Regions from separate parts of the Homo sapiens genome. Here region 2 is linked to region 1. The links are contacts of gene promoters, found by promoter capture Hi-C in blood cells and fetal thymus (Javierre and others, 2016). All regions are on one chromosome and are shown on one strand. Each heading gives the region's core, a stretch centred on a gene start or on the middle of the fragment in contact. The rest is flanking DNA. Distances are from core to core; before and after follow the strand shown.

The links. Contacts are between HindIII fragments. The CHiCAGO score rates a contact against its expected background, and 5 or more counts as called.
Region 2: a fragment that was not itself captured here is called in contact with the fragment with the promoter of ELOVL3 in region 1 in 6 of 17 cell types (megakaryocytes, endothelial precursors, activated CD4 T cells and 3 more); the score reaches 7.7 in megakaryocytes.

What each region holds. Positions count from the first base shown.
Region 1 is chr10:102,222,320-102,229,043 of GRCh38, reverse strand. ELOVL3 (ELOVL fatty acid elongase 3) reads right to left here and starts at 2,745. Exons shown (of 4, transcript NM_152310.3): 1 at 2,395-2,745; 2 at 1,287-1,418; 3 at 476-627; 4 at 1-219. The coding sequence starts at 2,495. RefSeq lists a silencer at 2,714-2,763. The HindIII fragment of the contact is 5,656 bases long and covers 2,526-6,724 here.
Region 2 is chr10:102,334,959-102,341,682 of GRCh38, reverse strand. The region is part of intron 3 of GBF1 (golgi brefeldin A resistant guanine nucleotide exchange factor 1); the gene reads right to left. Among named protein-coding and RNA genes, the nearest start is that of NFKB2, 57 kb to the left of the region's middle. The HindIII fragment of the contact is 7,072 bases long and covers 662-6,724 here.

The DNA.
Region 1 (6,724 bases), core at 1,496-3,995:
TGAGCATGGGCAGCATCTTGGGGGGCTTCACGTTGGCAGCCTTCAGAGTGTAGTAGGTGTACATGATGGCATGAACACCAAAGTTCATGGTGACGAACCAGCCTCCTGCAGGCACTTTGTTCTTGTATCCAAAGCTTGTGTACACGAGCACTGTGCTGTGGTGGTACCAGTGAATAAAGATGAGTGGCCGCTTACGCAGGATGATGAAGGCTGTGTCTCCTGGGAGATGGAGAGTCATAGTTGGCATACCACCCAGTGCTGGGACCACCCTCTGCACTGGATGTAGGGACACGGGAGAAATTCTCAGGGGAGGGAAGGGGGTCTTTGTGGCAGAGAATCTGTAGAGGGGCTTGGGTGAGAGGTATTATTGGGACCCAAGGGTAGGAAAGAGACCCTCCATGGGATGGGTGAAGGGAGGGCCCTGAGGAAGGATGCAGTTCACAAGGCACCAGAAAGACAAAGCTTTGCCACTCACCGAGTTCTATGACCTTGCTGAGAAGAAAGACCCAGGACCAGAATTTGACTGTGGAATTATCGATGAAGTTGATGAAGCACACGGTTTGCTTTAGGCCCCCGGTAAGTAGCACAGTCCCCATAATGCCCCACATCCTCACTGCCCCCAGGATACTGAAATGGGACAAAGGAAGATGGTGTAAGTGTCATCCCCAGGCACCAATAATCCACCCTTCCCCCGGCTTGGCCAGGTTACTGTGTTCCAAGCTCTACCACCTCCCCACCTGTCCACAGGGGGTGGGTCAAAGCTCCTGAGATCCTGAAGCCAATCTGGTAGATCCAATCAGTAGTCTAGAGGAGACGAGGGCTGGAGAAAGATCAGGGAATGCAGGGGGATGGGACTGAAAGTTGAGTTAAGGAATGGGGTTCTTGGGAGGGGTTAGGAGCCTGGGAGGAGATGTGTAGAGGGATAGGGGAAGACTGAAGGAGTTTGGGGGAGAAAATATGGGGAAGTTATTGGAGGGTCTTGAGAGAGGGTGTTAGGAGGTGACACTATTAGAGGCTGGAGAAATTAGTTGCGAGTACAGACTCTACGAAGGCAAGAGGGACAAAGCAGAGACCACCAGGTAGGGGTCTAAAAGAGAAGGAAAACAGGATAATATAACAGAAGAGGGTGAAGGCTGGGAGGGGAACTAAAGCCGAGAATGAGATGGGGAGAGTGTTACAAGGCAACTTGGGGACAGGATGGAGGTTGATGCAATCGGGAAAGCTTCAAGGGATAGAATGGTGGTCTAAGATCTAGAGAAGAGGCAGGGAGTGGGATGGGGTCTTACCTGAAGATTGCAAGGCAGAAGGACCAGAGGATGAGAGGCCCTTGCAGGTTGAAGCCCTTGCGTTCCTTCATGTAGTTCTGCCCCACAGCGATGAGAACCAGGTAGATCAGGGCTATGGGGAATGAGGTTGCCCTGGCAAGCAGAAGGCAGAGGGATGGGCTCATGGGTGGGTGCTGATTAGAGAAATGCCCACTCATCTCTCCAGGTGAGTGCTCTGGGTTGGAGTCCCAGTTCTGCCACTTACTAGCTATGTGACATTGGAAAAACCAACTTAATTCTCTGAGCCTTGGCTTCCTCATTTGTAGAGCGCGAATACTACATCTCTCCTGGGGGTATTAACGTATACAAAGTATCTAGCACAGGGCAGGAGCTATGTCCAAGGTTTCTGTGATTATTGCTCTCTCAGTGGGGTTAGAGGTGGGTGACGGCTGTCTGGCCCGCGCCTAGAAGCAGCCCAGGGCTGTGGTGTAAGAAGTGTGGCAATAGCTTCTCCCTGGTTGGGGCTCCTAGAAGCATACCAGGGCTGTGGCGTAAGAAGAATGTGGCAATAGCTTCTCCCTGGCTGGGGTATGGCAAATTGGTTGGAGCATAAAGTCAGCCTCCAAAACCTCTGGGGAGCTTTAAGGCAAAGCCAGAGAGCTCTTCCTGGGGAAAGCTTGGAAGAGCTCTCTGACTTCGCCTCCTTCTCCACAGCAGGAACGGTGGAGCACCTGGGGAACGATGGGATAATTGTAAAGGGCAGGCTGTCCCCCGGGCCCTGCACTGTGCACACACGCGCGCACACACAGCCACAAAGGACGGGGAAGTCATCTAGTAAGGCTTCAGATCAACCTCACGCCTCCAAGACCCTTCTCACTACACGCTCTCTTTGACTTCTGTATATTTCCACGTTCTCCCTCATCCTCTTATTTCTGCTTGCTTGCTTTCAGCTCTAATCTCTTTGAGGTGCCACATACTACCTGCACCTCGGACAAAGGTAGTGTGAAGCCAGTACAAGGGAGTCCCATAACTCTGCTCTGTAAGAAAATCATTGTGGGCATTCAATGCCACCCCCTCGCGCCCCGGCCCCGGGGCCCTGGCATGGCCTTTCCCTCTCCCAAAGTCTCACCAATACTCCTCGAAAAAGGGCCTCATGTCCTTGGACAGCTCGAAGTTATAGGGCTGGAACAGCTGATTTACTTCATGTGAGACATTCATGGCTGTGACCATCTAGTTTTGCAGAAGTCAAGGTCCAAAGCTTGGAGGCGCTGGGTGAAAGGCTGGGGCTCCGAGGATGGCGTGAACCTCGGGGCGAGACGGAACAGAGCCGGGACAGAAGGAACTCCTGGGCAAAGGGAGGAGGGCGTCGAACCTAGGCATGTGCGCGGCGGCGCAGCCAGCTATCCCGGGCGCAGCCACTGCGATATATAACGCGGACTTGCAAAGCTGCCTGCCCGGGCTGGCGCGACCTCTTTCCTGCGCCCCGCCGCTATCCAATCTCGACCAAGATACGCCTCTGCTCCGCCCCTGGGACGCAGTCCGCATTCTGATTGGTCATACTCAAGGGCCCGCCTGCCAGGCGTTTCGCACACCCCGCCCCAAGTCCCGTCGTAGGCCATCGCCCGCCCACTTCCCCAGCCTTTTCTCCCGTAAAACGTCCACCCCATCCTGTGCGGCCTTGCGGGTTCCCTTGGAACTGTCAACCGTGGCCTTTGCCTCGGTTTGCTTTAATCTTGACCTGCTTAGCAGTGAAGAGAGAGGAAAGGTGTCCTTAGGCTTTGGTGCTCCCACCCAGAAATGGAGGCGTCAGTTTCCAGGCTCCCTGAGATCCTGGGAAACCCAGGCCTGTGATGAGCAAATACTAACCTGGGCAACGCAGAGCTTCTGTAGTCCCTTCCACCTCCTAGCTTCGAGTCTGCGGTTGTGAGTGGGTGGAAGGAGATGAATTTTAAGGAGTTTTATTGTTGAGGTTGTTGATGTTGATGTTTGGGTTGTTGAGGCTGTTGTGGTTTCTTTATAGTTTCCTGAATTCCTGAACTGCTCCAGACTGACAGTAATAACCATGGAGAGAGGAAATGGGGTCACCCTCTGGGCTTCTGGAATTATTGTCTTCAGGTTTCCTGGAGGCCTCTTAGGGTTTAGGGAGGGGGAGAGCCAGTGTATCTCCCCAAGGCCTGTTGTTTTCTCTCCCTAACCAAATCTACTTCTTTCTCGCCTGTGTAACCAGCCCCAAAGAAATAAATGTTCTAAAACTTTTAAAAGTTTTACTTGGCTGTCCCTTATTTCTTTCCTAGGTTTTATGAAAGCGAAGGAGAAATACAAGGCTTGAGGGCAGTTTGAGATAAGGTGGAAATTTGCAAAAAGTGCTAAGAAACATAGATATAAAATAATTAAAATCAAGATGTGGGTATAAATGGCTATGTGCAGTAAAGCTCTAGAGCCAGAGGATCCAAGTAGGAACCCCAGCTCTATTTCCTGAACCTCAGCCACTGTCTATGCGAGGGTGTAGTGGAAGTCCTATCAGTGCCATCTAAGTGACTCAAAAGTGCATCTCTTTGTCTCTGTACCTCATCACTTCTCACCTGGTCACGTTACCTGGTTGCACTGCCTCTTTCTCTAATACAGTGCTTCTGCTCTTCACTGCATTGCAATCAGAAAAGAGTTCCTATACCTGGCTGATTACCAGATTCCTGAGCCTCAACTGCAGAGATTCTGGTCCTATAGGTTGTCTCAGACTGTACTTGGAAAACCACTACTTTCTGTTTGCTCATCCAGAAAACAGCTCTGCTTTCCTGCTTAAAAACCTTCAGTGGTTCGGCCGGGCACGGTGGTTCACGCCTGTAATCCCAGCACCTTGGGAGGCCGAGGCGGGCAGATCATGAGGTCAGGAGATCGAGACCATCCTGGCTAACACCGTCAAACCCCGTCTCTACTAAAAAATACAAAAAATTAGCCGGGCGTGGTGGCAGGCGCCTGTAGTCCCAGCTACTCGGGAGGCTGAGGCAGGAGAATGGCGTGAACCTGGGAGGCAGAGCTTGCAGTGAGCAGAGATCGTGCCACTGCACTCCAGCCTGGGTGACAGAGTGAGACTCCGTCTCAAAAAAAAAAAAAAAAAAAAAAACCTTCAGTGGTTCCTGATGGCTCCATATATAGCCTGACAGCTAATCAAAAGGTGATCAATACATGTCTATGGATGAATGAATAAATAAAAGAATGAATATTACAAGAATAATGCCATCTAGGTCTTACAAGACCCAAGTTCAAGTCCCAGCACCCCCATTAATGAGCCATGTGATTTTAGGCAAGTTACCTAGCCTTTGTCACATTCTACTTCAGAAAAAAATGCATATAGTCATACTCGCCTGCTTATGTCACAAGGTTGTGATTAGTATGCAAGCCAGATAATGTAGATAAAATGATATTGTGGACTAGACACATGGAAATGGCAAGGTGAATCATTATGGGAGGTTTACAAGTGCATATGGAGAATATATACTCAGTCCTGGATTTCTCTGTGAAGATATTTAACATTGTCTTTCCCTGTGAGGTTTAATGGTGAGGCTTGGAGGAGGTGTATGTGGAAGAGGGAAAGAAGAACACTCGGGGCTGGGCACGGTGGCTCACGCCTGTAATCCCAGTACTGTAGGAAGCTGAGGTGGGGGGATTGCTTGAGCCCAGGAATTTGAGACCAGCCTGGGCAACATGGTGAAAATCCATCTCTACAAAAAGTACAAAAATTAGCTGGGCATGGTAGCGCCCACCTGTGGTCCCAGCTACTCAGGGACTGAGGAGGGAGGATCACTTGAGCCAGGGAGGTCAAGGCTGCAGTGAGCTGTGATCGTGCCACTGAGCTGTGATCACACCACTGCACTCCAGCCTGGGTGACAGAGTGAGACTCTGTCTCAAAAAAAAAAAAAAAAAGCTAGGTGCAGTGGCTCACGCCTGTTATCCCAGCACTTTGGGAGGCTGAGGTGGGCAGATCACCTGAGGTCAGGAGTTCAAGACCAGCCTGGCCCACATGGTGAAACCCCATCTCCACTAAAAATACAAAAATTAGCTAGGTGTAGTGGCGGATACCTGTAATTCCAGCTACTTGGCAGGCTGAGGCAGGGAGAATTGCTTGAATCTGGCAGGCGTGGGTTGCACTGAGCAGAGATTGTGTCACTGCACTCCAGCCTGGGCAACAGAGCGAGACTCTGTCTCAAAAAAGAAAAAAGAAGAGGAAAAATCTTCAGAAATTATATTCTAGAGGAAACATTCCTTGACCCTTGGACTTGGTCTGGTACCCTTATTTTATATAAACTGTTCTCAGAGCATGGTATTTCTTTTCTTCAGTGAGAGTTTATAATTAGTTGTTTTTGTGATTTCTTGATCAATGCCTGTTTTTCCTACTAGTTCTTGAGCTCCATGAATGCAGGGACTATGTCTATTTTTTAAAATTTTTTATTATGAGACAGAGTCTTGCTCTGTCGCCCAGGCTGGAGTGCAGTGGCCTGATCTTGGCTCACCGCAACCTCTGCCTCCTGAGTTCAAGCGATTCTCGTACCTCAGTCCCCTGAGTGCTGGGACTACAGATGTGTGCCACCACGCCTTGCTAATTTTTGTGCTTTTAGTAGAGACAGTTTTCGCCATGTTGGCCAGGCTAGTCTTGAACTCCTGACCTCAAGTGATCTGCCCACTTCAGCTTCCCAAAGTGCTGAGATTACAGACATGAGCCACTGCCGGAATATGTCTGTTTTTTTCATCATTCTCCTAACCCTGAGCATAACCCAGGTAATATTTGTTGCGCAAGTGATTGAATGGATGAAATCCTTGGCATGTAAACCTGAGTGACATTATTTATTCTCCAGGATAAATACTCCAAGCCTATCTTTTGTGTGGTCACTGGTTTTGTTTTGTTTTTTTTCCCCAGTAGCCCTCCTGAAAGCCTCAACATAGAGGAAGAAGCGCTAAGCATGGGATGGTGTGAGCAGATGAATAACTGAGCAGGCTTTGGAAGTTTATAGAACACCAATCACTTGTATTACCTGGTGCCAAGTAGCTGCCTTCTGTGTCTATGAGTTCTCAACCCAACTTCTTTCTCTCCCTATTTCCAACTGCCTGTTGGACATCTCTACCGGTATGTTCTGCTAGCATCCTTAGCAATACACACCCCAAACAGAATTTGTTATCTACCTCCAAAATAGGCTGATTTTTCCAGCCACTATTTATATAATTTTTCAGGCTAGAAATTGTGAGGTCAAGTTATATTCTTCTATAGGACACAAGGTCCTGTCATTTCTTCTGGAGGTGGCATGGTCATCAGAATGCCTATATTCAGATTTTATCTCTGCCACTTACTACCTAGGTAACCTTGGCGAAGACATCATCAAACATATCATGGCCTCAGCTTTCTCATCTGTACAATGGAGATAACTACTTCAGAAGGATGTTTATGAGGATCAAATGAAATAATATAT
Region 2 (6,724 bases), core at 2,948-5,447, 110 kb before region 1:
ACTGGCTTCCTTCATTCAACATGATGACTGAAATTTTTCCAAGCTATTGCATATATCAATAGCTTGTTTCTTTTTACTGCTGAGTAGTATTCATTGCCTGTATGTATCAGTTTCTTTATCCATTCACTGGTTGAAGGACATGTGGGATCTCCAGTTTGGGGCAATTATGAATGGAGCTGCTATAAACATTTGTGTATCAGTGTTTGTGTGAACACAGGTTTCCACTTCTTTAGGGTAAGTACCCAGGGGTAGGATTCCTGGGTCAAAAGGTAAAGGTGTGGTTAGCTTTACTGTCAAACTCTTTTCCAATGTCATTTTATCACTTTGTATTCCCACTAGCAATAAGAATTCTAGTTTCTCCACATCCTCTTCAGTACTTTGTATTTCAGTGTTTTTACTTAAGCGATTCAAGTATGTATGTAATAGTAGCTCCATGTGGTTTAAATTTGCATTTCTCTAATGACTAATTATGTTGAACATCTTTTCATGTGCTTATTTGCCGTCTGTATATCCTTTTGGGTGACATGTCTGCTCAAGTCTTTTATCCATTATTAAACTAAATTGTTTTCTTACTATTGAGTTTGGAGACTTCTTTATTCTGAATTCAAGTCCTTCAGTAGTGATACAGTTATTTCTAAGTATTTTCTCCCAGTCTTAAGCTTATTTTTTCATTCCCTTAACATCTTTCATAGAACAGACACTTTTACTCTTGATGAAGTCCAACTTATTAATATTTTATGGATTGTGTTTTGGTTTAATGTCTAAATTGACTCTGCCTAATTCCAAGTCACAAAGATTTCCACCCTCCCATTTTCTCCTAAAATGTTTACAGATTTATGTTTTTCACCTATGATCTATTTTCAGTTAATTTTTGCATAAGGTGTGAGGTTTAGATTGAGGCTCATTTTTCCTTTGCCTAAGAATTTCCTACTGTTTCCAACATATCTCATTAAGTTGTCTTTGCACCTTTGTCAAAAATAAATTGACCAGGTTGGGCACTGGTCCCAGCACTTTGGAAGACTGAGGTGGGTGGATCCCTTGAGTCTAGGAGTTCGAGACCAGCCTGGGCAACATAGTGAGATCATCTCTACAGAAAATAATTAAAAAAACGGCCAGGCGTGGTGGCTCACGCCTGTAATCCCAGCACTTTGGGAGGCCGAGGCAGGCGGATCACAAGGTCAGGAGATCGAGACCATCCTGGCTAACACGGTGAAACCCCGTCTCTACTAAAAATACAAAAAATTAGCCAGGCGTGGTGGCGGGAGCCTGTAGTCCCAGCTACTCAGGAAGGCTGAGGCAGGAGAATGGCGTGAACCTGGGAGGCAGAGCTTGCAGTGAGCGGAGATCGTGCCACTGCACTCCAGCCTGGGCAACACAGCGAGACTCTGTCTCAAAAAAAAAAAAAAAAAAAAAAAGGCATGGACCAGGAGCAGTGGCTCATGCCTCATGCCTATAATCCCAGCACTTTGGGAGGCTGAGGTGGGTGGATCACCTGAGGTCAGGAGTTCAAGACCAGCCTGGCAAACATGGTGAAACCCCATCTCTACCAAAAAATACAAAAATTAGTGGGGCATGGTGGCGCGCACCTGTAGTCCCAGCTACTGGGGAGGCTGAGGTGAAAGAATATCTTGAACCCAGGAGGTAGAGGCTGCAGTGAGCTGAGATCGTGCCACTGCACTCCAGCCTGGGTGACAAAGTGAGATCCTGTCTCAAAAAAAAAAAAAAAAAATTAACCAGGTATGATGGCATGTGCCTGTAGTCCCAGCGACTCAGGAGGCTGAGGTGAGAGGATTGCTTGAGCCTGGGAGGCTGAGGCTGCAGTGAACTGTGATCATACCACTGCACTCCAGCCTGGGGTGACAGAGTAAGACCCTGTTCCAAAAAATAAAAATTAAATTGGCCATATTTTTGTGAGTCTCTTCTGGGTTCTGTTCTGTTTCATTGATCTATGTGTCTAAGTCTGACAACACGACACTGTGTTAATTATTATAAATATATACTAAGTCTTTTTTTTTTTGAGACGGAGTCTTGCTCTGTTACCCAGGCTAGAGTGCAGTGGCTCGATCTTGGCTCACTGCAACCTTGCCTCCTGGGTTCAAGCGATTCTCCTGCCTCAGCCTCCTGAGTAGCTGGGACTACAGGAACGTGCCACCACGCCCAGTTAATTTTTTTGTACTTTTAGTAGAGACGGGGTTTCACCATGTTGGCCAGGATGGTCTCGATCTCTTGACCCTGTGATCTGTCCGCCTCAGCCTCCCAAAGTGCTGGCATTACAGGCATAAGCCACTGTGCCCTGCCGATATATACTAAGTCTTTTTTTGAGACAGAGTCTCGCTCTGTCACCCAGGCTGGAGTGCAGTGGCATGATCTCGGCTCACTGCAACCTCTACCTCCCGGGTTCAAGTGATTCTCATGCCTCAGCCTCCTGAGTAGTTGGGATTACAGGCACACACCACCTCGTCTGGCTAATTTTTGTATTTTTAGTATAGACGAGATTTTGCCATGTTGGCCAGGCTGGTCTTGAACTCCTGACCTCAGGTGATCCACCCGTCTCGGCCTTCCAAAGTGCTGGGATTATAGGCGTGAGCCACCATGCCCGGCTTATACTAAGTCTTAATAACAGTGGTGTGATTCCTCCAACTTCATTTTTTTTTCCAATATCATTCAGTGTTCCAATTCCTTTGCCTTTCCATTTCAATTTAAGACAAACTTGCCTTGTTGGAAGTTTGAAAGGAATTGCATTGAGTCTATAGATCAATTTGGGGAGACATGATATCTTTGCTATGTTGTGCCTACCAATTCATGAACTTGGTATGTCTCTCCATTATTCAGATCTTCTTGGTTTCTCTCATCACTGTACTGATGAGCGCCACCACGCCCAGCTAATTTTGTATTTTTAGTAGAGACGGGGTATCTCCATGTTTGTCAGGCTGGTCTCAAACTCCCAACCTCAGGTAATCCGCCTGCCTTGGCCTACCAAAGTGCTGGGATTACAGGTGTAAGCCACCGCACCCAGCCGAGGCTCTGTGTGTAACCCTCACACAGCATACAATTCAGTCAATGGACTAGTCTCACTCCTATCAATAGCCAGATATATGATACCCAAGACCTTCATCTGTCAAATTAGATAGTTGAAATCGGCTGGGCGCAGTGGCTCACACCTCTAATCCCAGCACTTTGGGAGGCCGAGGTGAGTGGATCACTTGAGGTCACGAGTTTCAGATCAGCCTGGCCAACATAGTGAAACCATGTCTCTAATAAAAATACAAAAAAAATTAGCCTGGTGTGGTGGCACGTGCCTGTAATCTCAGCTACTTTGGAGGCTGAGGCATGAGAATTGCTTCAACCTGGGAGGCAGAGGCTACAGTGAGCCGAGACTGCACCACTGCACTCCAGCCTGGGTGACAGAAGGAGACTCTGTCTCAAAAAAAAAAAAAAAAAAAAAGAAGAAGGTTGTTGGAATCTATGACTGCTAAGATATGTTCATTCCAGTACTTTCATTTGGTAAGTCAGTGCTTTATAGAAACCTACTGATGAAAAACTAGAAGGGTTAAACTTTTTAATGAGCCCACCAGGAACCTTCATTATCATGTCACTTCCCTACCTCTTCCAAAAAAGAGAATCATGATATATAAAGTTAACTTTCCTTAAAGAGTTTTGTCTAGGGAGAACAAGAGTTTTGCTCTCTAGGTTCAACTGTTGATTGCCAGGAGCATAAGAGAAGCTCTAACAGGAGCAACTCTGCAACAAGTGGGGTTGGGGGCAAGTTGAACTCCTAGTGGGGCATCACTAGTAAGGATATTTCTTTCTTTCTTTCTTTCTTTTTGAGACAGAGTCTTGCTCTGTCACCCAGGCTGGAGTGCAGTGGTGTGATCTCGGTTCACTGCAACCTCTGCCTCCTGGGTTCAAGCGATTCTCCTGCCTCAGCCTCCCAGGTAGCTGGGATTACAGGCATGTACCACCAGGCCCAGCTAATTTTTATATTTTTAGTAGAGATGGGGTTTCTTCATGTTGGCCAGGCTGGTCTCAAACTGCACTCCTGACCTCAGGTGGTCCACCTGTCTCAGCCTCCCAAAGTGCTGTGATTACAGGCGTGAGTCTCCACGTCCAGCCTTTAGTAAGGATATTTCTAATTTAAGGGGTAACTTTTTGTAAACATGTAATTTAAAAACAAACAAATTTGAATTTATAATCCTGGTGAGATGTTCAGATGGTTATCTAGAATAGTGCTTGTCAAATTATCTGTGATGAAGAGCAGTTTTTTCTTCTTTATGTCAATCCACTGCAGACCCATAGTTTTTTTTTTTTTTTTTGAGGCGGAGTCTCGCTCTGTCGCCCAGGCTGGAGTGCAGTGGCGAGATCTTGGCTCACTGCAAGCTCCCCCACGCACCATTCTTCCACCTCAGCCCCCCGAGTACCTGGGACTACAGGCGCCCACCACCATGCCCGGCTAACTTTTTGTATTTTTAGTAGAGATGGGGTTTCGCCGCGTTAGCCAGGATGGTCTCGACCTCCTGACCTCGTGATCCGCCCACCTCGGCCTCCCAAAGTGCTGGGATTACAGACGTGAGCCACCTCGCCCAGCCCGTGCAGACCCATAGTTTTATAAAATACAGTTAATTACTAGAAAAATTTTAAAAACATAAAGTCCAATTTTTTTATTACTAGAATCAACATACATGTAACTACTGTCACATTGTTATAAAATTTTTAAAATACTTTCAACTTCTGTATATATCTCTTTGTGTATAAGCAGCAGTTTGTAGGCTGCATCAGTTTTCTAGGGAACTGTTACTCAGAGATTAAACCATACCCTACAAAAATAAGTCATAATTTTTGACTGTTCAGGAAAATCCTCCAAATCCTAGGATATTACAGCTAAAATAGGGCCTGAAAATAATTTATAATGAGGTAACTGAGATTTAGGGAAGTTAAGTAATTTGTACAAGGCCAGTTAGTATTGGAACCAGGACTAGAAGCTAAGGGCTCTAGGTAGAATCATGGGCTTTCGTGGACGATTCAAATCCCAGTTCTGCAACTTAATAGCTATGTGACTTTAATTACTTAAGTGTTCTGGGTCTCTAATTTTATTACTTGTAAATGGGTATTAGATAATTTAAATAAATTACATTTAAAATAAATAATAATAGCAACTAACATTCACTGAGCGTATACTATGTGCCAGGCATGGTATTAAGCAATTTACACACTATCTCATTTGATGCATGTAAAACACTTGGTACAATGCATGGAATAAAGTGTATAATAAAGATAACTAAGATATTGTTCTAGTTTTTAGCTCTAGAGTCACAGCAGTCCAGTGTTCTCTATATTGTATACCAGTTCATTTCTTTCTTTTTTTTTTTTCTTTTTTTTTTTTTTTGAGACAAAGTCTCGCTCTGTCACCAGGCTAGAGTGCAGTGGAGTGATCTTGGCTCACTGCAACCTCCACCTCCCCGGTTCAAGTAATTCTCCTGGCTCAGCCTCCCGAGTAGCTGGGACTACAGGCACATGCCACCACACCCAGCTAATTTTTGTATTTTCTAGTAGAGATGGGATTTCACCATGTTGGCCAAGATGGTTTTGATCTCCTGACCTTGTGATCTGCCTGCCTCGGCCTCCCAAAGTGCTGGGATTACAGGCATGAGCCACTGCACCTGGCCACCAGTTCATTTCTTAAGATTTAAGTAAATATATATATAAAAATTCTACCTTTGACTCCTAAACCATAAAACAAACACAAGTTAAGGATAAATACTGAGATAACGGGTGGTTGATATTTACGGTACAATTTGGGATAGCACTTTTAATTTCTGAGGGCTTCAGCTTTCTCCAAGGTATCAGAGAAAGAACAGGCTTCCTTTTAATAAAATGAATTATTAAAGTACTCATTAACATTTATTACCTGCGCCATGCCAAGTGCTATGCACTTTACATACCTTCACTCTTCATAATTAACCCCATTTTGAAGATAAAAATGAGGCTTGGAAAGGATAACGAGATGTCCCCACCAGCTAAGATCATAGCACTAGCTAGTAGTGGAAACAGGAATCAAATCCAGGTCCATCCAACTCCAAAAGCTCTGCTCGTAGCCATCCGACTTTACTGCTTCCTACAAGGCTAGAACAGAAAGGTTTCTGGTGTCCTATCTCACGGTTCAGCCTGGCTGGGAACTGAGATTCAATTGTCTGGATCTTCTCCAGAAGAGTGAAAACTGCCTGAGTCCTTCAGGAGAAAAGTGCCATGATTCTGCTCATAGTAAGCAGGCTGAATAATTTCACAACCAAGGAGACATCTGACACCCCAGCCAAGCAGCCAAAATTCCCGCCCTGGAAGACTGTCAACCTCAAGGCACAAACAGTCCAGTAAACACAGAGTGCAGATTAGGTAGAGAGGTGCTCTGAAGGTGACTGGTCCATGTTCTAAGATGAGCCAGTCATCTGGGGGAAAAAGGGCACAAGGAGGGGAAATCTAACCCCCCATTGGAGAAAACACTTCGGATCCTTCCAGAATCAAATCCGGATCCAATTTCTGGACAGTCAGTGACAAATTACAACAAGAATTATTAAATTATTTCTGGAGAGGCTCATGAGTCACTTCAACCCAAAGCAAAGTGAAGCCCTTTGGAGATGTCTTGGTGGTGGTCTGCTCATACTGTACTCAATACGACTGGGCAGGGTGCTTCACTCCCCATATTATGACATTAAAACAGAAGTGTCAATTT